Regions from separate parts of the Homo sapiens genome. Here all the other regions are linked to region 1. Evidence: promoter capture Hi-C in human tissues and cell types (Jung and others, 2019). All regions are on one chromosome and are shown on one strand. Each heading gives the region's core, a stretch centred on a gene start or on the middle of the fragment in contact. The rest is flanking DNA. Distances are from core to core; before and after follow the strand shown. Region 1 holds the start of GYG1 (glycogenin 1). Region 2 holds the start of LOC105374151 (a long non-coding RNA gene). Region 3 has its middle 21 kb from the start of TM4SF18.

Region 1 (3,587 bases), core at 471-2,970:
CCATCTATTGCCCTTTCCACTTTTCTGTTTCCTACAACGGAAGCACATAATGCCAAGTAACTGGGAGGGCCTCCCATGTGATCAGCGGTCTCTAGGCCATGGTCAAGACTAGGAAGGACTCAAGAGAGGCTCCTGGAAGGTGATATTTAAAATACTGATTTTAAGGTTCTACCCTTAAGATTCTTTTTGTTTTGTAACCTGTTTTTCTTCAAATAATATATTTTGAACAGCTTTTTATATTAAAAATATATAATGATTATGCCTACAGAGTATTTCATTACCTCAAGAGTATATGACGCGACTTCAAAAAGTCCATAGAATATACATATTATAAAAAAAAAATGCATGGATTTCAAAATTATTTTGCACCAAAATAAACCTACCCTTAAGATTCTGATTCAGGAGGTCTGGGCTTAGGCCCAAAAATCTACGCTTTAACCAGTGCCCCCAAGTGATTCTGATGTAGGAGATCCACACCCACACACGAGGAAACAGTGATATAACTGGTTTGAGGACAGCAGTACCACCTTTGCAAATAAATCACTTATTCTTAAGCATCTGTTTTGCTTTTTGAACTGATGTCAACTTCCTGATTGGTTTCCAAATGGCTTTGCAGTACTCATTCAACATTTACCGAGCAATTTCAGTTTTCAGTTTGCAGAGAACTGAACTACCCGAGGCTTGTTCTGTGTTTGGACTGGGGATGGGGAGCAGAGAAGGATGTGATCACATTAAAGCTATTTCTCAACTTCCTAGAAAAATGACAAATTGACCATTTCAAGATTTGTGAAACAGGTTAGCATTGGCTAACCACAGTTACAATAATTTACTAACCTTTTTGGAGCCCCTGTGTACAAGAGGCACCAAGACTTTCTGGGTGGGAAGGTTGATTCTGTAACCAAACTGCCAGGGTTTAAATCCTACTTTCTCCATTTATATTATATGACTATAGAAAAGTTAGCACTTTGGGAGGCTAAGGCTGGCAGATCACTTGAGGCCAGGAGTTCCAGACCAGGCTGGCCAACATGGTGAAACTCTGTCTCTACTAAAAATACAAGAAAAAAAAGAAAAGAAAAGTTAATTTAACTTTTCTGAGCTCAGTTTCCTCCTCGTCTGTAAAATGAATATGTAACACCTCACTGAGTTCGTACAAGGATTAAATGAAGCACTTAAATGCCTAATTGATGCAGATGGCTCCAAGAATTTAACATTTACGAAATATTCACTATATTTTTTAGGTTAAGGGTACAAAACCATTGTGAGTACACTAAGGAATGATTATAGAGGCTGATCGAAATTCTGCAAAAAAAGCGTAAATTTTACGTTTCATTCAAGCAGTTCAGACTCACGATTTTAACTAGAGTAATCTGGGGTTTGTTTGCTTGTTTTTTAAGGTTCCCTAACCCTTGGCTTCTTGGGGAGTTTGATGCCGCACTCAGCCCCAAAGTCCCCCTTAACTCCCAGGTTTAGCGGCGACAGGGGGCGCGCGGTTGACAAGGGCAGGCGCCCCGGGGAAGTAGGAGCAGGGGCGCCGGTGAGCCGCAGCCGCAGCGGCAGCCTAGCCCCGAGGGAGGGAGGAGGAGCCGAGGGAGACGCGGGACCCGGAGCCCCGCGGGCCACCGCCCCTGCCGGCCGCGCAGCTGGGAGGATGCGGACGGCAGCGAGAGCGTGCGCGGCCACGTGACGGCCGCTATAAGAGCGCACGGGGCAGACGCTCGGTTCCCCGCCGTGCCTCCTCGCTGGCCGCGCTCCCTCCCGGTGCCGGCTTCTCTGAGTCACCAACCTGAGGCTGCCCCGGCCGCCTGCGCACCCGGCAGCACCATGACAGGTACCGCCGCGCAGCCCGCCGCCGCCAGCCCCGGGACCCCGGCTTCCTGCCCAGCCGCCGCCTCCCTTCTCCTCCGCCCTCAGCCCCGGAGTGTTCCCGGCAGGACGAAACCGCCGCAAAGTTGCTGGCTGGCCGCAGCCGGGCGTGTTTCTGCCTGCGTCAGCTGCCGCCCCGCCGCCCCCCAGAGTGCAGGGATGGGGCAGCCGGGCAGAGCCCGGGCCCTCGGCCGGAGCTCTCGTTCCTGCTTCCGTCTCCTCGTCCTTCCTCTTGCTCTCACGGCGAAGGGCCGGCGGGCGGAGCAGCTGCGGCGGGGCCGTGTGGGGGTGGGGAGCCGGTTCCCCTGGGGGTTCCAGGCGGGAGTCCGGGGCGCAGCGGCATCGTGGGGAGCTGCCCCGGCCTCTGGCGGCCCGGAACCCCAGGAAGCAGGGGCTCCGAGGCGGGGATACTGCGGCCTCCGCCCGGCTCCTCCGCCGCCCGCCCCGGCCCCGGCCGCCACGCTGAGCCTATTTTTAGGCCTTTGGGGCCGGGTTGCGGGAAGCCGGGAGTCGGACTAGCGTCCCCGGGCGCGAGCCCCGTCTGGTGGGAGGGCGCCGGCTTTGGCTTCACTTGTTGCGAGGCGTCCGGGCCACTCCACGAGTTAGCCCCAGCACTGGGAAGCTCCGAGTTAGCTGGTCCTTCCGTGTCATTGAGGCTAATAGCCAGGGTTATTACAGCAGTTGAACTGCCACAAAGATTGCAGGTGTAACCCAGAGTTCAGCCGTCTTTAGGAAGATTAAACTCCTACCCAGCTGTCATTGGTCTTTCTTGGTCATTTGTAATGTTGGCTAGTCTGGTGTTCTAACCTGTGTTCTATCCCTTATTTAATCTTGGAAATCATCCATATCCTTGCTTCCAGAAATCCTTGAATCCTGCTCACCTTATTACATTTTTCTCCATGATCGCCTGGAACCTGGACTTCATTTGAGTTAGATGATCATTCATTTTGCCTAGCTTAAGTATTTTTGGTACAGATTGACAGCGATGTTACCCATGTTATAATGGGCTGAAGATAATAGAAGCAAGTACAGGCGGATGTTGATGGGCCTGTCAAGGGACAGGTGCCACTGTTCAGAGCTTTCCTAGAGTGTGAGTGACTGGGAAGCTGGTGGCCCTTCGGGGGTGGGGAACTGGTCTTCCTACAACTTAGTAGTTGGCCTGCCGTGGGAGAGGGCCTAATAAAATGTGTGAAGATGGCTCTCAGGTCAGCAGCCGAGGGATGCGCTGGCCCACTAGGCAACCCACAACTTCCTCTCATGTCTCGGTGGAATTTCTACTGCTTCCAGCCTCCACCTTGGAAAACGGGCAAGGGAGAATGAGGGAAAGCCAGGTCAGAAAGAGAAGGACTTCATGACAAAATGTCCCAACTCGCTGGTTAAGCAACTGACTCCTACCAGAACTTGATCCGAAGTGTCCTATGCATTTGGATGCCCACCAACTTGCTAATGTTTCTTGGAGATGGAACATGGCCCAGAATTGTCCCAGGGAATGACTGGAGAAATCTTGAAGCCTGTGCTAGGGGTCTTGGGAGGGTGGGGACTGTTCAGCAGGAGGAAAAATCCATGTATTTACCTTCTCTTCTGGCAACTAAGTGATTATTGGAGATTGGGGTGCGTGTCTGTTGGTTTGGGCGGGGGGAGGGGGAGGGTGCAGGATGGACCTGCACCTTCTTCTCCAAAGAAAAGCAGGCAGTTGTTTAGGGCTTCTTGGGTGATCTCCAAAT
Region 2 (3,587 bases), core at 407-2,906, 410 kb after region 1:
TAAAACTTACCACAGTGAAGAGAATTAATAAAATACTTTTATAATATCTATTGTCTGTGTCTGAAAGAGTTAATGCTAAGGGTAATGTGGCTGTTAGGTGGGGTTCTGAGGAAATAGCGGGAGAGGCCCTGGTGAGGCGTCTCCATGAGAACCTACCCCACAAACCCATTCACTTACCCATAGCAAGAGATTTCCAGAGCAAAACCTCCTTGGATGTGTAAGGAGGAAGGAAGGAAAAATCAAACCAGTGGAGCCAAATTTGCTTCTCTATGATTTCTTTTTGGGTCACCATCAGTCAGAGGTGTGTGCCTTTTCCCAGCTGTCAATAACCTGAGTCATAAGAGAAGGAAGATAGCAGATCACCCAGAGGAGGTGATGAACCATAGCCAATCAATTTTTGCAGGAAATGGTGTGGGCATTTGAAGAGAGATTAAACATGCGCACAGGAGCCAGGGGGAGGTCTGGTGTCTACCCCCTGAATGGAGTTTCCAAAAGTTGTACATTTTACAAACAAATGTGGTGCATCTTATAAGGCTTAATGTTTTTAGGAAACGACTTTGATATGACAATTGTGAAGGCTATGATGAAAAGACAAAACAGAAAACCGTGTAAAAGTAGGAGCCTGACATTACAAAGAATGACACCTTTGTGTGTTGCTCCCCCAACAGCCAGCACCAGGCCTTGCTTTCCAGCTAGCGCTACTGCAGGTTTATACTCTCTGAAGTTAGACGCTGGTTATTCCCCAGAGCAAAGCAAGGGATATAAACAAAAAAGAAAAAAGAAAAGAAAAAGGAAGAAAAGAAAAGCACCCATCCACCTGAGTTAGAATCTTAGCTGCCATTCTCTAACTTGACTCGGTTACTTGGCTGACTCTGTTTCCTCACCTGCAGGATGGAGTTTTTTAAAACACCTACCTCCCAGAGCACTATAAAAATTTAATAAAATAAAGTTTGTGTCTCAGCTTGGGTTCCCAGAAGAGACCTGAAACTAGGACTTGAGTGCAAGTAGTTTATTTGGAAGGTTAAGGGAACACTCAAAGAGGAGTGGGAGCTCAGATAAAGGAAAGGAAGGAGCTCTTCAAAGGAGCATTAGCCGAGCCTGGGCAACATAGTGTAAACTTGTCTCTACGAAAAAAGATAATAAAAAAATTAGCTGGGTGTTGTGGTACATGCCTGTAGTCCCAGCTTCTCGGGAGGCCAAGGTGGGAGGCTGACTGTAGCCCGTAAGATAGAGGCTGCAGTGAGCTGTGATCGTGCCACTGCACTCCAGCCTGGGCAACAGAGCAAGCCCCAGTCTCAAAAAATTACACAAAAAAACTATTAGCAAGCCACCTTTCCCTGTGTGTTACTGGAGCTTAGAATATCACTAATAATTCTTTGAAAGAAGGAAAAAAGTCAGAAAATATATATGCATATATACAAATACACATGTATATTTGTTCATGCAAAAAATATATTTAAACACAAAAATGTGTTAGAGAGGTTGCCTCTGAGGAAGAAAATTGGAGGACAGGGAAACATGAGTAAGAGGCATACTTAAATTTGCTCATATCACCTCCCGTACATCAAATTTTCCGTGCTTATGTATACTTTTAAATTAAGAAAATTGACAAAGTTTGCTAATACTGATTTTTCCCTAGCCCACTCCCTTTTCTTCATTAATCTTCAGGTTCATTACCTGACAAACTCAGTGTTATAGAATAACTTCTAAAAGTTTTAAATGTGAAGCTGGGCTGAGTGGCTTGCATCCCGTAATCCCAGTCACTCGGAAGGCTGAGGCAGACTTGCTTGAAGCTAGGAGTTTGAGACCAACCTGGGCAACATAGTAAGACCCGTCTCTATTTGAAGAAAAAAAAAGGAAAGGAAGAAAGAAAGAGAGAGAGAGAAAGAAAGAAAGAAAAAAAGAAAGAAAGAAAGAAAAAAGAAAGAGAAAGGAAGGAAGGAAGAAAGAAAGAAAAAAGAAAGAAAGAAAGAGAAAAGAAGGAAGAAAGGAAGAAAGAAAGAAGGAAAGAAAGGAAGAAAGAAAGAAAAAAGAAAGAGAAAAGAAGGAAGGAAGAAAGAAGGAAAGAAAGAAAGAAGGAAAGAGAGAGGAGAGAGAGAGGGAGGGAGGGAGGAAGGAAGGAAGGAAGGAAAGTTCTATATGGGAAACAACCCAAATGTCCATCAATGGATGTATGAATAAACAAGTCATGATCTATATGAGGGAATATTATTCGGCCATAAAAAGAAATGGAGTACTGACACACAGTACAATGTGGATGAACCTCAAAAATATGCTAAGTAGAAGACATCAGACACAAAATTCACATATCTTATGATTCCATTTATAAAAAATATCCAGAAGAGGTATCCACGGAGATCAAAAGCAGATTTGTGGTTCCTAGGGACAGCGGTTAGGGGAGAATGAGGAATAACTGCTTAATAGATATAAAGTTTCATTTGGGGATGATGAAAATGTTTTAGACTTACAGGTGGTGGTTGCAAAATACTGTGAATGTACTAAATGCCAGTAAATTGTTCACTTTAAATGGTTAATTTTATGTTACGTTAATTTCACCTCAATGAAAAAAATTAAAAAGTCTTATAATCATAAAAGGAATAAATCGATGCCCACTTTAGGTTTAAAGAACAGAGGTTTAAAAAGGAAGAAAAGAGACAGGAAAGAAGGAAGAAAGGGAAGAAGGGAGGGAGACACAAAGAAAAGGAGAAAGGACCACTCCTATATCCACCATTCAGGGAAATTCATCATTAATATTTTGAGTTAATATTTTGGTATATTGGTATTACCTTGCAGTCTGATAATAATAGTCAAATATATTCCAGTCGCACAATGCTTGGTATTACATAACCTTCCAGTCCTTTTTTCTCTACACAAATAAACTTTTTTTAAAGAAAATAAAACATGATATTATGTTGTCTATATGTTTACATCTCCTGCTTTGTTCATTTAATATAGCACAGGTTTTCACATCATTAGTCTTCCACATGATGTTTAATGCTGTATTGTACTCCAGAGCATAACATACTGTAATCTATTCAACTAATCCTTTAAGGTTAGATGTTTAGGCATGCAGAGTTATTGTTGAGAGATGAAAACATAAAGACTATAGTTATGAGACTGGTTTTTGTGTGTGACTTGAGGTACTAGTTTTTTCCCTGATAGTGTCACCTCATTCATGTAAAGTCAGCACAGCTCTCTCTACTTTCTCACAACTGAGGCACCCCCCACTTAGCCAAAATCATATGTAGAGTGTTTTATTTATAAAGAAGCCTTTCGTTAATACTGGGAAACTGAAAAAAACCCAGTACATTAAAAATATTTCACAAATCATTCACTCATGATTATGACACTAATTGGAAACTGTGGAATTATCTTTTAAATGTCAAGATACAAGGAGGTGCTCATTTTATTTTATAGAAAGTATCACAGGGTTTGAGCAAACTTGCCCAGGAACCAGAACATTTGCAGAGCAGAAATGCAGAGAGAAAATGGAGCATGTTTATCAAATAATGTAAATAAAGTTATCAGTGGTTTGATAGCTTCTGAAAACAACAGACTCTTGCATTTAACAAAGTCATTTCAACCAT
Region 3 (3,587 bases), core at 545-3,044, 360 kb after region 1:
ATGTAGTTATGAATTTTCAGAAATATAAGTAAAGTCAACTTGTAACGTTTGATTTAACCAATAGGAACTGCTCCAACAACTCAATGTATCAACTCTGAAAACAAATTACTGTATCCCCTGCCTACCCTAGTATTTAGAAGGTCAGTGCCTCCCTCCTGAAGTGTACCTCTCAACGGCCCAAGTTTGGGTTTAGGCTAGCCAGGCATCTTCAACCCAAGGGGAGAGATCATTGGTCAGGGCTGTCTTTACTGCTCTAGACCACACGGTGTCACTGTTGAAGACCAGTTGGTTCACCAAACATCTCTGCTGTGAGGAGCCGGGGGTGGGGCGGTGGTGCCAGTCCCTGCTGGGGCCACATGGCCCTTTTTGGAGGACAATGGCCTCCCACAACATGTAGCTCTGCCCGGGGCCCCAGTGTGGCAGCCCTTTAAATTCATAAAATCAGTTTACGTACACCGGAGCTGGCCCCAGAAGCTTTGAGTCAAATGGATTCCACTGTTTACAGAACTGCCTCCCATTGTTTCTTTCTAATCATGGCCAAGGGATAGGTGGCAGTGTTATTTCCAACACAACTCTGCAACTCAGAAAACATAAAGGGTCTCTCTAATACCACCTTTTTCTAGACAATCTAGGTTACTCACCCTTTACTTACCTCTCTTCTGTGGTTTAAATGATATGTATCCCCTTAAGAAAAAACTCCTCCTGGGAGTTCATAAGGCTATTTTTCATCCTGGCCCATAAGAAAAAGTTGCTTGCACTTCTCTTACTAAAAACTGAAGAGCCACAAGAGAAAATTAGCTTCTCTTACAGGGCTAAGATAAAATAATACCAAATATATTTTCATTCATTTTTATATTTTAGTAAAGTTATAGATCTGTGATATAATACCTTTGTGATTTTAAATATATCTAATCCCTCAGGGGTATTTTATCCTTTTATTTTCCCCACCCTCAGACCTGCCCACATTTCCACCATACTCTGCTTAAATATTGTCTGGCCTAATGCCATGTTTATTGAGAAGGAAGTGAACTTGATCAAGTCAGGGGCAAATGTGAGACTGAGGGCCCTGACTACTAGTACTTGCTCTTTCCACAGCATGATCCTGTGTCTCCATTTCTGGAGGTATTATTAGGTTTGGAAGGCTGAAGAATTACGTACAGACTGGATGGAAGCTGGAAGTGAGTCGAGGTGGGTGGTTAAGTTAGGTCTGTCAGCATCTGCACTGGTTTTCTACTTTCCAGCACTGAATACACAAGCATTTGACCAGGGGCCACTGAGTTCCAATTGCAACTGGTCATTGGAGCCACCTCACTCTGCTCTCTATTTTCCATGTCCCTCTCTCCACCCCAGGTACTTGTGAGGTTCCCACCATGTCCACTCATAGCAACCATGTATTATTGTTTTGACCACCTGGAATCTCCTTTTTCTTGCCTTTTGAGAACTACCCTCTAGCATTCATGTGATCCTGTTCAGTTGGCCAATCACAGTGGTCTGTTCCAGCTACCCACTGAATTAGGTAGATAGACTTTGCATGGACTGTCAAAATATCTCAACTCCGGGGCCACAGTGAGTTGTCCTTGTGACCTATCTTAAACCTTTTGTACTGCTATAACAAAATACTATGCTCTGGGTCATTTATAAACAATAGAAATTTATTTCTCACAGTGCCTGGAAGCTGAGCTGTCCAAGGTCAAAACAGTGGAATTTGGTGTCTGATGAGGGCCTTTTTGTTGTGTCCTCATATGACAGAAGCCAGAAGGACATAAAAGGGCCTAAGTTAGCTTTTTTCAGCATTTCTTTCCAAACAGATATCAGTAAAATTCTAAGATTTTCCAACTTGATACAAGATAGGTGAAAGCTCTTCATCTGTCACCAACAATACCAACTAGTCAGACACAAAATACACTCTTCAGCATCTTTCTCTCATTCCAGTTGCCACTCCAGATATACAACTGGAGTTGACATAGACTGAAGTTATTGAGTTTGATGATAATACAAATTCAAGTGTAGACTCAATCTCTTTCAACAGCATCCACATGAGGTAAAAAGGAAAGAAACTAACACTTATTTCTTATTTTATTTTCATCATTCAGTGTGTTGAGTTCTACGATGGCCAGTCTCCAAGGTGGTTCCCAGTGATCCCTGCCTCCTGTGTAGTCCCTTCCCATCTTGTACTATTGTTGCCCAGTGTGACCAATAGGATATGAAAGAAGGAATAATAGGTAACTTCCAAGATTAGGTATAAAAGACTGCAGCTTCCATCTTGGGCTCTCTTTCTCATCACTCACTGTAGAAGAAGCCAGTTGCCTTATTGTAAGAAGCTCTGTGGAGAGGCTCACAGTGTGGAGAACTGAAGCCTTCTACCAACAGCTGTGTGGGTGATTTTGGAAGTGGATCCTCCACTAGCAAGCCGTAGATGACAGCAGACCCAGCTGACACCTTGACTGTAACCTCTTCAGAGACCCTGAGGCAGAACCTGAGCTAATCTGCTCCTGGATTCCTGGCCCGCAGAAACTGTGAGAAAAAAACTGTTGTTTTAAACTCTTATGTTTTGAAGTAATCTGCTATGTAGCAGTAAATAATGAATAAGTGCTTTTCCAAGGTTACCCCCTGAACAATCCTGAGAGATAGTTACTGTCATATTTAACTTAATCTGAGATGCCTCAATTTGAAGATGACCCATCTATGAGCCCTTCTGTCCATGAGCTAGTCTATGAAATAGTTAAAAGGGCAAAAAATGCTGCTAATGAATCTATGACCTGCCCTCAATTGTAAGATACACGCAAATTTCAGGTATGTTATCGGGTGACAAAAATGTGCATCTTATAATTGATGAAACATATTATCTGCATTTTGTAACAGGGATTTCTTCTCATACACTGGGAAAATAAAAGCTTTCTTTTCATCCTCATTATTCGGCTTGATGAGGAGTAGCCAGTCAGTATATGTTTGTTGAAAGGTTTTGTTCTTAATAGAGATGGATATAACATGACTTCTAGGATAAAGCAGGACTCAGAAGAGAGTTTTTTGTTTGTTTGTTTGTTTGTTTTTGAGATGGAGTCTTGCTCTGTCGCCCAGGCTGGAGTGTAGTGGCGTGATCTTGGCTCACTGTAAGCTCCGCCTCCCGGGTTCACGCCATTCTCCTGCCTCAGCCTCCCGAGTAGCTGGGACTACAGGCGCCCGCCACCACACCCAGCTAACTTTTTGTATTTTTAGTAGAGACGGTCTACTAAAAATACAAAAAGCAGAGGATGGTCTCAATCTCCTGACCTCGTGATCCGCCCGCCTCGGCCTCTCAGAGTGAACACAGATCTTGTTCTTAACTATTAATCCGCATGGGAAGTGTTTTGAAGACATAAATTCTTCTCATTCTCATGTTAATCAAAGGAAGGCTCTTTTCCAGATTCTTAATCAGCACTGTCCTCTACATTTTATTCTGCTTAATTGAGAATGTACTGCCTATGGGACCCTTTAAAAATCAGCCTAAGGCAGTTCCCAGCTCCTTAGAATAACTGACACTGAATGTCTACTCCATGCCAGCATTCTCACTTACGTTACCTGAGCCAGACATTATCATTCCCGTCGGA

The links. Contacts are between HindIII fragments. The study calls those that stand out against the background at their distance.
Region 2: a contact is called between a fragment that was not itself captured here and the fragment with the promoter of GYG1 in region 1, in 1 of the 25 tissues and cell types used here (neural progenitor cells).
Region 3: a fragment that was not itself captured here is called in contact with the fragment with the promoter of GYG1 in region 1 in 1 of the 25 tissues and cell types used here (H1 embryonic stem cells).

Annotation. Positions count from the first base shown.
Region 1 is chr3:148,989,820-148,993,406 of GRCh38, forward strand. It overlaps GYG1 (glycogenin 1), which reads left to right and starts at 1,721. Exons shown (of 8, transcript NM_004130.4): 1 at 1,721-1,828. The coding sequence starts at 1,822. RefSeq lists silencers at 1,360-2,409, 2,443-2,737. The HindIII fragment of the contact is 14,804 bases long and covers 1-3,587 here.
Region 2 is chr3:149,404,441-149,408,027 of GRCh38, forward strand. LOC105374151 (a long non-coding RNA gene) reads right to left here and starts at 350. Exons shown (of 3, transcript XR_924574.3): 1 at 178-350. The HindIII fragment of the contact is 7,007 bases long and covers 1-3,587 here.
Region 3 is chr3:149,352,393-149,355,979 of GRCh38, forward strand. No RefSeq gene overlaps it. Among named protein-coding and RNA genes, the nearest start is that of TM4SF18, 21 kb to the left of the region's middle. The HindIII fragment of the contact is 4,261 bases long and covers 1-3,587 here.